Regions from separate parts of the Homo sapiens genome. Here regions 1 and 3 are each linked to region 2. Evidence: promoter capture Hi-C in human tissues and cell types (Jung and others, 2019). All regions are on one chromosome and are shown on one strand. The core of a region is centred on a gene start or on the middle of the fragment in contact, and the rest is flanking DNA. Distances in the headings are between cores, read along the strand shown.

Region 1 (4,909 bases), core at 1,594-4,093, 220 kb before region 2:
TTAAAAACATTTCAGTATTTAAAGTTTCTAGCGTCCTTAAAAAAAATTTTTTTTAATTTATCGCCTAGGCTAAGCACTGTTGAAAAAATAAAGGAAAACAGACTTCACAAGGATCTCCGTGCTGAAAGCAGCCTTCAACAGGAAGGTCCCTGGAGAATCAGCTCCTTCCAAAAGATCAGGGGATGAAGACTTCAAGACCGCAACTGCTGCTGTCTCACCCCTAGGCAGGAATGGACCACCCTCCGCCCTCCACCCTCCGCCAGCAGCCCACAGGAAGCAAGTAGAACCTGATACCACCTCCCGCCAGTCTGTGAATATATAATCTGACTTGTATTTTCCCTGTTTTCCCATTTTGCATACTTCAGAATAAAGACATCTGTTCATAACACTATTAGGAACCTTGTAAAAAAAGAAAAAAATCAACCAAAACAAAACCTTGATTTCTTAACTTTAAAAGTGCTACATAGGGGCCAGGCGTGGTGGCTCACGCCTGTAATCCCAGCACTTTGGGAGGCCAAGGAGGGAGAATCACCTGAGGTCAGGAGTTCGAGACCAGCCTCGCCAACATGGCGAAACCTCAACTCTATTAAAAATACAAAAACTTAGCTAGGCGTGGTGGCGGGTGCCTGTAATCCCAGCTATTCAGGAGGCTGAGGCAGGTCACTTAAACCTGCACAAGGCAGAGGTTGCCGTGAGCCAAGATCAAGTCACTGCACTCCAACCTGGGTGACAGAGCGAGACTCAGTCTCGATGCTACATAAATGAGCCTGCACATAAAAACTTTACTGTCTTAAAATTAAAATAAATACGTAAACATCAAGAGACGAAACATCCCAGATATATTCTACAGCGTGAATATTCTAACAAGCTCTCTGTGTGGAAAGCAACCGACCACTACAAAACGCTTCAAAACCTGGCCGGGCGCAGTGGATCATGCCTGGAATCCCAGTACTTTGGGAGGCCAAGGAGGGAGGATCGCTGTGCCCAGGAGGTTGAGACCAGACCAGGCTACAGCAAGAACCCTGTCTCTATAGAAACACAAAACAAGGCACTTGGCCAGAGGTTGGTTCTCATGCAGGAACTGTGTCAAATCAGAGTGGGAAACAGCTAGGCACAGTGGCTCACACCTGGAATCCCAGCACTTTGGGAGGCTGAAGCAGGAGGATTGCTTGAGCCCAGAAGTTCAAGACCAGCCTGGGCAATGTAGTGAGACCCCATCCCTACAAAAACTATGCAAAATTAGCTGGCATGGCATGAGCCTGTAGTCCCAGCTACTTGGGAGGCTGAGAAGGGAAGATCACTTGAGCCTAGGAGTTGGTGGCTGCAGTGAGCCGTATCCTATCATTGCACTCCAGCCCCAGCGACAGAGCAAGACCCTGTCTCAAAAAAAAAAAAAAAAAAAAAAAAAAAAAAAAAAAAAAAGTGGGGCCGGGTACGGTGGCTCATGCCTGTCATCCCAGCACTTTGGGAGGCCGAGGTGGGTGGATCACCTGAGGTTGGGAGTTCGAGACAAGCCTAACCAACATGGAGAAACCCTGTCTCTACTAAAAATAAAAAATTAGCTGGGCATGGTGGCACATGCCTGTAATCCCAGCTACTCCGGAGGCTGAGGCAGGAGAATCACTTGAACCTGGGAGGTAGAGGCTGCAGTGAGCCGAGATCATGCCATTGCACTCCAGCCAGAGCAACAAGAGTGAAACTCCGTCTCAAAAAACAAACAAAAAAAAGTGGGAGGTGAAGCAAAATTGGTTTGAGTCACACAAGGGTTACCCCTAAAACACACATAATCCCTCGGGAACTGGCCTGAGAATAGGAAATGCCGCCCCAGCATCCCTGGTCACTAGAAAATTTCAGCGTATAATTACGACTCCCTCTGCAGGGGCCAGGTATGGACACTAAGGCGTCCGCTGAGGGTCCCGGCCGCATCCCCGGGTGGAGGCCCCCCACCTCCGCCCAGGCAGCGGCGCCCCCTCGCGGCCGCTTACTCGTCGCCGTCGGGGCACACGCCGGTGGCTTCGTTGTACTTGGAGCAGTACACGTCGGGGCTGTAGTTGAAGGTGCCGTCGCGCCTGCGGAGGGGCCTGCGGCGCCGCTGGTTGAGGAAGTGCCAGTGGAAGCAGGTGAACGGCCGGTGCTGCGCGCACTTGTGCTGTGAAAACAGGGGGCACTGCTCCGTCCTGAACTCCTTCAGGTACCTACAAACACAGACAGCGCCGCGGCTCGCTTCCGGCAGCACCTCCAGGGACTCGGACTCGTGGGCGGCGGGACCCACCGGCCTCAGGAGCCTCAACCCAGGGTCGACCCGTACTCACATTCCCGGCGGGCCCCAGGCGCTGCGCCCACCCCCATCCCGACTCCAGACGCGACCCTCACCCGACCTCGTAGCCCAGGCGCTGACCCTGGTCCCCAAGCCCAAGCGCCACCCCGGACCCTGGGCGACCCGCTGTGACCTCACGGTCGGCAGCCGGAGCAGAGGGTCCCGGTCCCCGAGCCCAGGCGCAACCCCCAACCCCGGGGCGTTCCTCCCTCCCCAGAGGCGCGTGGACCCCGGAACCAGGTGCCATCCCAGACCATGGGCGCCGCGCTCCGACCTCAGGCGGAGGCCGCCGAGAGCAGAGGGTCGTGGCCCCCCCAGCCCAGGCGCTGCGCGGAGGCCGGGGGGCGCGGGGGCGGCGGAGGCGGCGCGAGCCCCGGCGGGAGGCTCCGAGCTGCACCGGGCGCGGGCGGGGGGCCGCAGGCCGGACGGGCGCTGACCTGTAGTGGGTCGGCTTCTCAGTCTGCGGGGGGGACCCGCTCAGCGCCGCTGCCGCCGCTTTCGAAACCGACGGCATTTTCAGTCAAAACAATGCAGCGCGCATGCGCCGCGCCGGCGCCCCCGCCCCCGGATATCCCCGCGCGCCCCCGCGGCCACGCCCCCCGCGGCCCCGCCCCCAGCCCGCAGACCCCGGCCCCGCCCCAGCCCCGCGCCCCCCGCAGCCCCGCCCCCGGCCCGCAGACCCCGCCCCAGCCCCGCGCCCCGCCCTGCCCTGCCCTGCCCTGCCCTGCCCTGCCCTGCCCTGCCCTGCCCTGCAGCCCCCGGCCCGGGACGCTGGTCCTGCCCGGGGCCGCGCGTGGGACCCGCGATGGTCGCCCCTGCTGTGACATGACCCGACATAACCGTGTATTTTACATGAATTAATCACAAGAGTTGTATCTCAATAGAGCTGCTCTTCCACAAACGAACCAAGAGGCTGATGTCAGGGGGAGCCAGGCACCGGGCGGAAGGGCCAAGGGGTCCTGGCCTTTGTAGAAAGGAATTTGTTCCATTTCGAACCTTGACCTCAAAAACTTATACTCAGAGATTTATCTACAAAGGTAATTATCACAGTTATTTTGCAAACACTTGAGGTCCCCCTTCCCCCAACAGCGCAGTAGCTGAGAAAAGGGAAAACTCTAAGTGCTCTGCGTGATTTGAAACAGTGCTTCCGAAGAATTTTTAGTGGTAGGAGGCCGGGCGCGGTGTCTCACGCCTGTAATCCCAGCACTTTGGGAGGCCGAGGCCGGCGGATCAGCTGAGTTCGGGAGTTTGACAACAGCTTGGCCAACAGTGAAACCCCGTCTCTACTAAACATACAAAAATATTAGTGGGGTGTGGTGGCTTGCGCCTGTAATTCCTGCTACTCCGGAGGCTGAGGCAGGAGAATGGCGTGAACCCGGGAGGCGGAGGTTTAGTAGTGAGCCGAGATTGCGCCACTGCACTCCAGCCTGGGTGACAGAGTAACACCCTGTCTCAAAAAATAAAAAAGAAATTTTTAGTGATATGAAAAATGTGCCCATTGGCCGGGCGCGGTGGCTCACGCCTATAATCCCTGCACTTTGAGAGGCCGAGGTGGGCGGATCACGAGGTCAGAAGATCGAGACCATCCTGGCTAACACGGTGAAACCCCGTCTCTACTAAAAATACAAAAAAAAAAAAAAAAATTACCCGGGCGTGGTGGTGGGCACCTGTAGTCCCAGCTACTCAGGAGGCTAAGGCAGGAGAATCACTTGAACCCAGGAGGCGGAGCTTGCAGTGAGCCGAGATCGCGCCACTGCACTCCAGCCTGGGCAACAGAGCGAGACTCCGTCTCAAAAAAAAAAAAAAAAAAAAAAAAAAAAAACGAAAAGAAAAATGGGCCCATTTAGGTTGAAAGCAAATCACTTCCTACAGATTTGTTCCAAGTATCTCAGGGTTTTTTTTAATATTAATACTGTAAAACAACAAAAACTATCATTTGCTGGTAGGATAAATTTCTTCATAGGTTCACATTTTCTTTTTCTTTTGGCGGGGGGCGGGGGGAGGAAGGAGTTTTGCTCTTGTTGCCCAGAGTGGAGTGCAATGGCACGATCTCGGCTCACTGTTGCAACCTCCGCCTCCTAGGTTCAAGGAATTCTCCTACCTCAGCCTCCTGAGTAGCTGCGATTACAGGCATGCACCACCGCGCCCAGCTAATTTATTTTTCGTAGAGACGGGGTTTCTCCACATTAGTTAGGCTGATCTCGAACTCCCGACCTCAGGTGATCCACCTGCCTCAGCCTCCCAAAGTGCTGGGATTACAGGCGTGAGCTACCGCGCCAGCCAGGATCACATTTTCTTAATGAATTATCTCTACAAACATTACATTTAAATCTTAAAATGATAATGAAGAACATATTTTCAAGTGAAGTCAAGCAGGAAAATGAAGTCAAGCAGGAAGGGCAGGGCCTGCAAATTCTTCAGAGACGAATAAACAGATCTTGAAGACTCCCAAGGTGCTAGGAATGGAAAGGGAGTCTAGGGTGACGCCCAGGTCTCTCGCTTGCAAGGATACAGAGCAAGGGAGAAGAAACAGGTTTGGGGGAGATGAATTCCATTTTGGAGTTTAAGGAGCCTGTGAGCTGTCCAGCAGAG
Region 2 (4,515 bases), core at 593-3,092:
CTCCACTGAAGAACCTCCACTGGGAGATTGTCACCGTTTCTGGAGATCCATGGAAACGGCTGTTGGTCTCTGCACATTAGGGGTACCCCTTGATTCGGGTCTGCCGCCGATGCGGTTTTGTTTGTTTGCTTTTGGTATCCACGTGACCATTCATGTAAGATTTTCTGCTGACTTCACCTATTTATAGCACATCAGTTCCGTTTTGTCCTATATTTGATGCCTGTGCTGGTCTTCTCATGTTCAGCTCACTTGTTTATTTGAAATCTCAGCACTGGTCAGATCCCGTCATCCAAGGCTGTTGTGGTTAATGTCAGGTTGTGGTGAGTGGCCTTGTGCCTTCCAGAGTGGCACGCAGCACCGACTTTTCATTGTCGGCCTCTTCCTGTGTCGTCTGTCCTTTGCATCGTTCATTAGTGCCTTTTTGAAAGACAGTCCAGGCTGCGCGCGGTGGCTCATGCCTGTAATCAGCACTTTGGGAGGCAGAGGCGGGCGGATCACGAGGTCAAGAGATCAAGACCATCCTGGCCAACATGGTGAAACCGCATCTCTACTAAAAATACAAAAATTAGCTGGGCATGGTGGTGCACACCTGTACTCCCAGCTACTCGGGAGGCTGAGGCAGGAGAATTGCACCACTGCACTCCAGCTTGGCCACAGAGCAAGACTCCGTCTCAAAAAAAAAAAAAGAAAGAAAGTCAGTCCATGAGAGCAGATCTGCCATCCACTGTGGCTGGTCTTGAAAAGCTCTCTATGGGGGAAGCTGGCCAGCAGCGGAGGGGACTGGGCAGCTGTTTAGTAGATGAGGTATAGAGAGAGGGATGGGATTCCAGGAGCTTCGGTCTAGTGTGCTTTGCTTGAACCATCTGCGGGCAGGGTGGGAAGCGTCTTTGGACCCTCAGGCTCCTGGCGTAGACTTATCTCCTCTTCTGAGGTTCAAATGCACATTCTACTTGCCAACCCAGGCTCTCTCCCATGTCAATTTCAGAAGGCAGTCAAAGCAAACATTTCTTTTCTAATTGTGTCACCTTTCCCTGTTAAACAACCTCCTAATCCTAAACTTGCTGGTGCGAGGAGGCCTCATTCCTCTTTGGCCCTTCTGTCCATCTAGGGTGAAGGGTAAATGCTCCCTCACACCTCTCGGTGGGGGGTCACACCCAACACAGGTCCTTTTCCCTTCTCCGTGTGGGCCCCTGTGCTTCCCTCTCTTCCTGACCTGGCACAGCAGGCTCCTACAGCCTTGGTGTCTCCTGTTCGTGCATCTTTGGTGTGACCCCACATGATGTGCCTTCTTCCTGTTGAGCTCACCGTTCTCCCGTGTTCTCCCGGGTTCTCTGATGGCCCTGACTGTCTCTTCAGCAGGGCTGTCTGCCTCCGTGCCAGCGGGCAGCGGCATTGGGGCACCCGATGCTGACTTGCCCAACAGGAGCATGAGGCTGGAGGCCACTAGGACACTGCGAAGTGACTGGCCCCATGGACTGTCATTGCGCATCAAACAGAGTGGCAACTTTTTCACGTTACATGTATTTTTGGCGTGCTTTGGAGTTTTGTTTTGTTTTGTTTTTTGAGCCAGAGTCTTGCTCTGTTGCCCAGGCTAGAGTGCCATGGCGCACTCTCAGCTCACTGTAACCTCCATCTCCCAGTTTCAAGCGATTCTCATGCCTCAGCCTCCCGAGTAGCTGGGATTACAGGTGTGCACCACCACACCCAGCTAATTTTATATTTTTTAGGAGAGATGAGGTTTCACTATGTTGCCAAGCTGGTCTTGAACTCCTGAGCTCAGGAAATCCACCTGCCTCGGCCTCCCAAAGTGCAAGGATTACAGGCGTGAGCCACCACGCCTGGCCTGTGCTTTGGAGTTTTGAAGAGCACACCGTGTGCACTTTATCATGGGTTTGTCTGACTCATCTTGTGGCGTGAGACACAGAGTGGTGGCAAGCGAGCGTGGAAGGGACTGACTCCGCCCCCAGCTTGGGGGCCTTGCGTGTGTGTTCGTCTTACTAATCTCCCGTGGTTTCCATGCACATCTGCGTTTCCTTGCTGCTGTCCATTGCTCAGTGGAGATTTTGCTTCACGAACTCAAAGTTGGATGAGGTGAGCTTGGTTCCTGTCCCTGAGTGTGTAATAAAACATGAGGTGCCACCTAGGAGGCCGTGGGGCCAGGCGGGGCATCAGGGACACCTCCCGGAAGCCCTGCTTCGTCCCAGGGTCCCACCTCCCCTGGGGTCCCTTGTCTGCAGTGTCTTGCTCTTGGTGCTACTTTCTTGTTTCTGGGTTGTGGGTTTTTTTCTTTTTGCCATTTCAAATAGTGGACTTTAAAATATATATTTTAGAAATGGGGATATTATTCACCCTTTTAAAGCATACAACTTAGTGGTTCTTAATGTACTTACAAGGTTATGCAGCCATTGCCACTCTCTAGTTGCAGAATATGTCCATTGCCCAGGAGGAAACCCTGTGCCCCGGTGCTGGGAGCCCTCAGTTTACTACCTCCTGTCTCTATGGATCGTTCTACTCTGGATGTTTCATAGAAATGGGATCACGTGCTATGTGTCCTTCTGTGCCTGGTTTCCTTCACTCAGCGTCAGGTTTCAGGGTTTGTCTGTGTTGTAGCGTGTGCCAGTCCTTTGTATGGCTGGATTATTTTCCTTTGGGTGGATGGCCACATTTTGCTTGTCTACTGAATAGTGGATCTTAAAGCTTTCCGAGTCATGGGCTCCTTTAAGAAAGTCTGATGAGGCCAGGCGTGGTGGCTCACGCCTGTAATCCCAACATTTTGGGAGGCCGAGGTGGGCGGATCACCTGAGGTCAAGAGTTTGAGACCAGCCTGACTAACGTGGTGAAACCCCGTCTCTACTAAAAATACAAACATTAGCAGGGCGTGGTGGCGCATGCCTGTAATCCCAGCTACTTGGGAGGCTGAGGCAGGAGAATCCCTTGAACCTGGGAGGCGGAGGTTGCAGTGAGCTGAGATCGCGTCACCGCACTCCAGCCTGGGCAACAAGAGCGAAACTCTGTCTCAAAAAAAAAAAAAGAAAGAAAGAAAAAAAGAAAGTCTGATGAGCCCTTAGGTCTTAGGTCTTTCTCTCAGAAGAGCCTTTGAGAGCAGTTGGCCTGTGCTTAGCCGTGTCCGAGACCCATGGTCCAGAATCCTCCTCATATCTTGAAAGCCTGCTTCTCCATTTACCAGTCTTAGGGCCTTGAGAACAGGTCTCTGAGGAGAGAACTAGAGAGGACAATTGTGAGAGTAGAGGGGACAAATGGCCTTCACCCCTGCTCTGTGAAGTGACCCAAAGGGGCCTGGACTGTGTTGTCACTTGGTTTCCCTAGCAGGATTAGGTCTGGTGTAATACAGTAACAAAATGCAAAATAGCAGTGGCCCAAGCGCCTCAGAATTCACTGTCTCGTGGCAGAGACGCCTAGAGGCTGGCGCCCAGGGCAGGCAGGACCCAGGTGCCTCCCATTCTTGTGCTTGGCTGTCCTTGGTGACAGCTCCAGGCAGTGGCTCTTGAGGAAAGAGGGGTGGGAAAAGGGGAACCCTCCTGCCCAAATCAGGCTCTTTAAGGAGGCTTCTGGAAGTCTCCACTACTTCCAGTGGTGTAGCCATGACCAGCTGTCCATGTCTCAGCCTGTTTGCCTCCCAAATAAAACAGGGGCCTTGGCTGGGCACGGTGGCTCATGCCTGTAATCCCAGCACTTTGGGAGGTTGAGACAGGTAGATCATTTGAGGTCAGGAGTTCGAGACCAGCCTGGCCCACATGGTGAAACCCTGTCTCTACTAAAAATACAAAAATTAGCCAGGCCATAATGGTGTGCACCTGTAATCTCAGCTACTTGGGAGGCTGAGGCAGGAGAATCTCTTGAGCCTGGGAGGCAGAGGTTGCGGTGAGCCGAGATCATGCCACTGCACTCCAGTCTGGGCGAGAGAGTGAGACCCTGTCTCCAAGAAAAGAAAAAAAAAAAAAACAGGGCCTCTTACTGAGGAAGGAGAATGGGCCTCAGGCAGGGGTGAGCACCTGTCCTTGGCTCCTCCTCCCGCCTGGGCCCGGGCTATGCAGATCCACTGTCCTGGGAGGGCACAGGTGAGGCAGGAAGGCAGCATCCAGGTTTCAGGGCTGCTGGCCTCACCTGTGTGCAGAGATGGATGACAGGTTTAGTGCTGGCCACATCTGCCACCTTCACGAGTACCAGCTGTTCTGAGTGTTGTGTTTTCTCCTCCAGGGGACATTTCCTCTGCCTATTGGGGTAAATTTCTAACGCCCCACTTTGGTTTAACTTTTTATTTTGAAAATCGCAGACACAGCACCGTGTTCTATACACTCTGCCCAGTGTCCCCTGTGGTTGACAGCTTGCATGACAAAGGTACAGGGAGGAGATCCAAGAAACCACGTGAGCCTGGTGTGGCTCTCACACCCAAGCCAGGCAGCGCCTCCTGTTCCCCTCTCTAAAGCCGCCTTCTCTTCTGTTTCTCAGTGTTCTCTCGAGGCCTGAAGAAGTCATCCCAGGAACTGTATGGCC
Region 3 (4,836 bases), core at 2,337-4,836, 190 kb before region 2:
TTAGCCAGGCATGGTGGCATGCGCCCGCAGTCACAGCTACTGGGAAGGCTAAGGCAAGAGGATCACTTGAGCCTGGGGGGTTGAGGCTGCAGTGAGCTGTGATGGCACCACCACGCTCCAGCCTGAACAACCAGGCAATACCCTGTCTCAAAACAAAAAACGAGTGTCGGCCTGGCTTTGCTGCCTCTGGCCCTAGAGAGCACTCAGACACCCGGACTCAGGGAAAGGCAGACGCCCTCATGAGCGGCAGCTCCCCCACACCTGGCACCTTGGGAATCCTCAGCCCAGCACCCCTGCCTGCTCCACACGGCCACTCAGTAACTTCCTGAAGGGCAGTGAGAGGGAGGCTGCCGGCTCCGGGCAGTGGAGCTATGTGGGTGGCAGCTGGGTGCCCCGGCAGTCCTGGCCCCTCACCCAGCGTACTGCCTGATGCGCACGGGAGCTGGCTGCAGTCCCCGGTCTCTATTTGTGGAGCTCAGACCCGGGCTGCTGAAATGTGCAGCTGCCCGTTCCCTCCCCACCCACAGCGGAGGCCCCTGCTGAGGCCACAGCAGGAGGGGGAGCCACTCCAGCCCCGTGGGTGGGACCCTGGCTTCTAGGAACTCGTGTCCTCGAGGAAGGTGAACTCCGCTTTGTGTGCAGGGAAAGGTGGAGCCCGAGAGTGGCCGTGGAAGGGGCTTCGGGGCTGCGATCTGTGGACCCGGGCAGGCGCTGGCTGTGTGGGGAGGGGTGGAGGCGGCAGGACACAGGCAGCTTCCTGGGACGAAGAGCGCCCAGATCTGCAGCTGCCGGCCCCACGTGGCAACTGAGCTTTTTTTTGAGATGAGGTCTCGCTGTGTTGCCCAGGCTGGTCTTGACTTCCCAGGCTCAAGCGATCCTCCCGCCTCGGCCTCCCAAAAGTGCTGGGATTTACAGGCGTGTGCCACTGCACGTGGCCTGAGCTTTTGTTTTTTTGTTTTGTTTTGTTTTTTGAAATGGAGTCTCACTCTGTCACCAGGCTGGAGTGGCGCGATCTCAGCTCACTGTGACCTCCTCCTGCTGGATTCAAGCAATCCTCCTGCCTCAGCCTCCTCAGTAGCTGAGGCTACAGGTGCCCGCCACCACACCTGGCTAGTTTTTTGTATTTTTAGTAGAGATGGGGTTTCACCATGTTGGCCAGGCTGGTCTTGAACTCCTGACCTTGTGATCTGCCCGCCTCAGCCTCCCAAAGTGCTGGGATTACAGGCGTGAGCCACCGTGCCCAAACAACCTGAACTTTTGAAATGGGGCATGTGCGGCTGAGGAATTGAGTTTTACATTGTCTACAACTATAGCTGATTTCAGTGGACACAGATACATGGTGAACGGCCGCTGTATCGGATGGCACAGGCCGAGAGGGTTAGGGTCTCCTCCTCGGCCCTCTGGGCGGCCCCCCTGAAGCCTGGGCCTGGTGGTACCTGCATTCTGGCCACCTCCAGGTCCACCCTCCGGCTGCTGTCCTCTTGGTTCTTCTGCAGGGCGCCGCAGGCCACCTCCCGGCCCTGCTCCTCCTGCTGCAGCAAGTCGGTCAGCTTGGCCAGTCTAGAGAAGTCGGCTGTGGTCACACCAGCCCAGCTGGCCGGAGGGCCCAGCAGGGTGAGGCTGACCCACAGGCTGGCCAGGCAGGAGGTGTACGACCCCCGCCCCCTGCCCCACCAGAAAACAGAGGAATGGGAAACACAGCACCGGTGGCAGGGAAGGGCTGCTGCGAGTCTCTTCCCCACAGAGGGTCCGCAGCGGGCCCAGGCTTCCCAGCACGCTTGGCACCGAGGGCGGTGCCCCGCCGGGTTACTGGGGACACACGGCAGGGGGACCCGTGTCTTGGCTCAGCCAGGGACTCTCAAATGACCCCACGCAAGCTCCGGAGCCAGCCACGGGCGGTGGGCGCCCACCTGAGGCCGGCCTCTTGCTCGGCGCCCCTTCTCTCCGCCTCCTGTTGCACCTGCCTCCTCCTGAGCCGGGTCAAGGCTTCCCGGACCTCCACCAGCCTGGGACACAACAAGCCATTCCCGAGAGGCCCAGGCGGGCTGAGCAGCCTCGGCGGGCTGGGGGTCTGGCCAAGGGGCCCCTGTGGCCACCTCCCATGGCTTTCCTGGGCCTCTGAAGGCCGCCCAGGCACGTACAAACCCGGCCTTTTCTAGCTGGACCTGGATGTGTATCCCCCACTCCAGCGACACCCAGCGGGAGATGTGGACCCCCCACCACACCTGCCGCTGCTTTCTCGCCACCACCTCCCCGCCCTGGGCCTGTGCCCCTAGGTGTGTGGGGGGTACCTTTTGTCCAGGGCCTGCATCTGGTTCTGGAGACCAGAGAACTGCGAGGAGGAAGAGGAGGCTGTGGGCTGGACCTAGGCCCGGGTCTGGCACCTGCCCCTGGAGTCCACCCAGCTCCGGCACCACTGGCCCCTGGGAGCTCTGGGCCTGGGCAGCAGGGGTGAGCTGGGCTCCAGGCCCAGAAGCAGCTGCCCCCAACACCCAGGAAAGGGGCAGCTCGACCTGTGGGTGGGGGAGCCGCTCACCTCCGGCGCCTCCTTTTCGGGGGCCTGGGCTGCCGGCCGCGCCTCCTGCTGCAACTGCCTCAGCTCTGAGCCCTGCAGCTGCACGCGGGCCCGCACCTGGAGCAGCTCCCGCAGCAGGCTCCGCGTGGCGCGCTCACAGCGCTGCTTGTGCTCCCGCAGGCAGGCCACCTCGGCCTGCAGCTCCACCACCCTGGCCGGGGCGAGAGTGGGCGAGTCTGGCGGTGCCCGCCGTGGAGGCGGAGGCGGCGGCGACGTGGTCCTCCCCCGCCAGCACCCCCTGCAGGGCTCACCACTGCTCCAGCTGGTTCCAGTGCTTGGCGGTGTCCTGCTCGGGGACAGAGGCCGTGGATGTCGGATGGCTGGACTCATACCTCTCCGAGAGCTCCTCCAGGCTCAAGGGCTCGGGGCTGGCCAGGCCTCCTGCCAGGAGGAGCCCCAGGTCTTCCAGGGTGACGGCTCTCAGCTGGGAAGGGGCCGATGCCCCTGAGGGTCCACTGTCAGCCAACTCTACAAGGAGGCATCTTGGGAGCTTGCCCCTTGGGGCCCGGCCCCCACTGGAGCTTACGGGAACAAGGCCCCAAACCCCCGCAGGACCCTCGCCCACCACCCAGAGCTCAACGCGTCTCCTTGGGTCACACAGGATCCAGACGGGCTTGGCTCAGACAAGTCCAGGGCCCTGCCTGAAGACACACAGCACTGGGCGGCAGGAACAAGCGAGCTGGAGGGAGCCCGGGGTCAGAAGCAGAGCGGTCCCCACCCTCACACCTGTGGCAAGCCCCTCCCTGGGCCCCGCTCCTCCGCTCTGGTCACCTGACATGGCTGCTGGGCTGCACCGGCCACCCTGCCCTCGGCTGTAGCTTGGGCCTTGGGGCCTCTGAGGTTGCCCAGAGCTGGGCACAGGCCAGGGGGGTCAGGAGCCAGAGGAAGTCCCGTGAGAGCTCTGGGCCTTGAGGGACGAGCTGCTGCCCTCGTCTGGCTGCCTTCTCAGGGTCCCCAGGGAGGCAGGTGTGGGGCAGCGGGGCCGTTCCAGAACCTTCCTTCTCTCCCCAGAACCTCACGGCTTCACAGCCCAACTGCCAATGGAACTCTAGCCCTCAGCTCTCCCACTCCCGCAGGGCCCCCCAACTGCCTGCTTCTGGATGGATCTGAGGGGCCCCACTCCCGAGAGGGCGCAGACACGTGTCCTCTGGCAAAGGGGACTTCTTCAGCTGCCGAGGGAGGGGAAGGAGGCCCTGACGAGGCCTGGGCACGCCGGGAGGGACGCTGGGAGCAGGGAGGCCGAGAGCCCCAGGACACCCCGGACACAGCCAGGCCCACGTCCGAGCGGAGCCCGAGGCCTGGGCAGCGCCATCGGGGTGAGGGGCACAGCCGGGCTCCACGGGAACCCATCTTGCTCAGCAGCCCCATTAAAAGGCAAGAAGCAGCGATGTGAATCCTAACCGCTGATTTTATTTAACCGAATATATCCAAAATATGATCACTTCCAGGTCCTCAGTACACAACCACCACGAGGGAAACCCAGACCTAGGTTTCCGGCGCCGACTCTGAGGCCCGGGAGTTTTCTTCTTGCGTCACCCCAGCGTGGGCACCCCGGCCCGCCCCCCTCCACCTGGAGCGCCTCTGCCTTGCCCCCAGACCCACCAGCCAGGAGCCAGAGGAGGGAGGCTGAGGGGCGGGGACGAGGAAGAGGATGTGGCTGGTGCCCTGGGTGGCCGCAGCCGCTGTCTTTCACGCCTTTCTCACTCCACACGGTGCCCCGACCCCAGGGTCCCGAAAGTCCCAGGCTGTTGGACGTGGTCTGGGTGGGGTGGGAGGGACGACGCTGGCAAAGGCGGGCTGAGAGGATTTCTTTATTTCGCGTTCAGACCCAACACACTCGGACACCTTGGGGCCCTGTGAGGGCTAAGCAGGGTGGTGGCGTCAGCTCCCGGGGAGGCCCCACTCCCTGGGGAGGAAATACACGGCAGGGGGCCGCACCCAGCCCCCCACGGAGGGACCCGTGTTGCTCTAACAGGGACACTGAAGTTGCCTCTGCCGCCCCGTGAGGGGCCTGTGGCGGCCCCAGACCCAGCCCAGCCAGGCCAGAGGAGCCTCCCAGGGGCCCTCAGGTGGTGAGGTGGGGGCTTCCCGGCCCCGGTGCCCACCGGCCCTTCTAGCTGCCTGTGCTGGGCCAGGTGTCCTCTGAGGCCGGCAGGAGTCTGGCCCCCGCTGCACCTGCGCTTGGTGGCTGGCAGGGGCGGGGTAGGGAGGTCACCCTCGAGGCCGGGGTCCCCATGTGCTAGGGGAAGACCTGCCTTCCC

Evidence for each region. The method cuts DNA at HindIII sites, captures the fragments that hold promoters and counts their contacts. A contact is called where the count stands out against the background at its distance.
Region 1: the fragment with the promoter of UNKL here is called in contact with a fragment that was not itself captured in region 2 in 1 of the 25 tissues and cell types used here (dorsolateral prefrontal cortex).
Region 3: a contact is called between the fragment with the promoter of CCDC154 here and a fragment that was not itself captured in region 2, in 3 of the 25 tissues and cell types used here (dorsolateral prefrontal cortex, lymphoblastoid cells and stomach).

What each region holds. Positions count from the first base shown.
Region 1 is chr16:1,411,861-1,416,769 of GRCh38, forward strand. It overlaps UNKL (unk like zinc finger), which reads right to left and starts at 2,844. Exons shown (of 15, transcript NM_001372107.1): 1 at 2,755-2,844; 2 at 1,986-2,195. The coding sequence starts at 2,831. UNKL-AS1 (UNKL antisense RNA 1) reads left to right here. Exons shown (of 2, transcript NR_188570.1): 2 at 69-391. RefSeq lists enhancers at 1,745-2,319, 2,320-2,894, 2,895-3,469, 3,470-4,043 and silencers at 1,839-1,988, 2,419-2,468, 3,009-3,128, 3,179-3,248. The HindIII fragment of the contact is 21,408 bases long and covers 1-4,909 here.
Region 2 is chr16:1,633,354-1,637,868 of GRCh38, forward strand. CRAMP1 (cramped chromatin regulator 1) reads left to right here. Exons shown (of 21, transcript NM_020825.4): 5 at 4,471-4,515. Among named protein-coding and RNA genes, the nearest start is that of CRAMP1, 23 kb to the left of the region's middle. The HindIII fragment of the contact is 4,859 bases long and covers 1-4,272 here.
Region 3 is chr16:1,440,970-1,445,805 of GRCh38, forward strand. CCDC154 (coiled-coil domain containing 154) reads right to left here and starts at 3,587. Exons shown (of 17, transcript NM_001143980.3): 1 at 3,347-3,587; 2 at 2,827-3,043; 3 at 2,537-2,726; 4 at 2,292-2,332; 5 at 1,911-2,006; 6 at 1,437-1,560. The coding sequence starts at 3,353. It overlaps CLCN7 (chloride voltage-gated channel 7), which reads right to left. Exons shown (of 25, transcript NM_001287.6): 25 at 3,966-4,836. The HindIII fragment of the contact is 26,646 bases long and covers 1-4,836 here.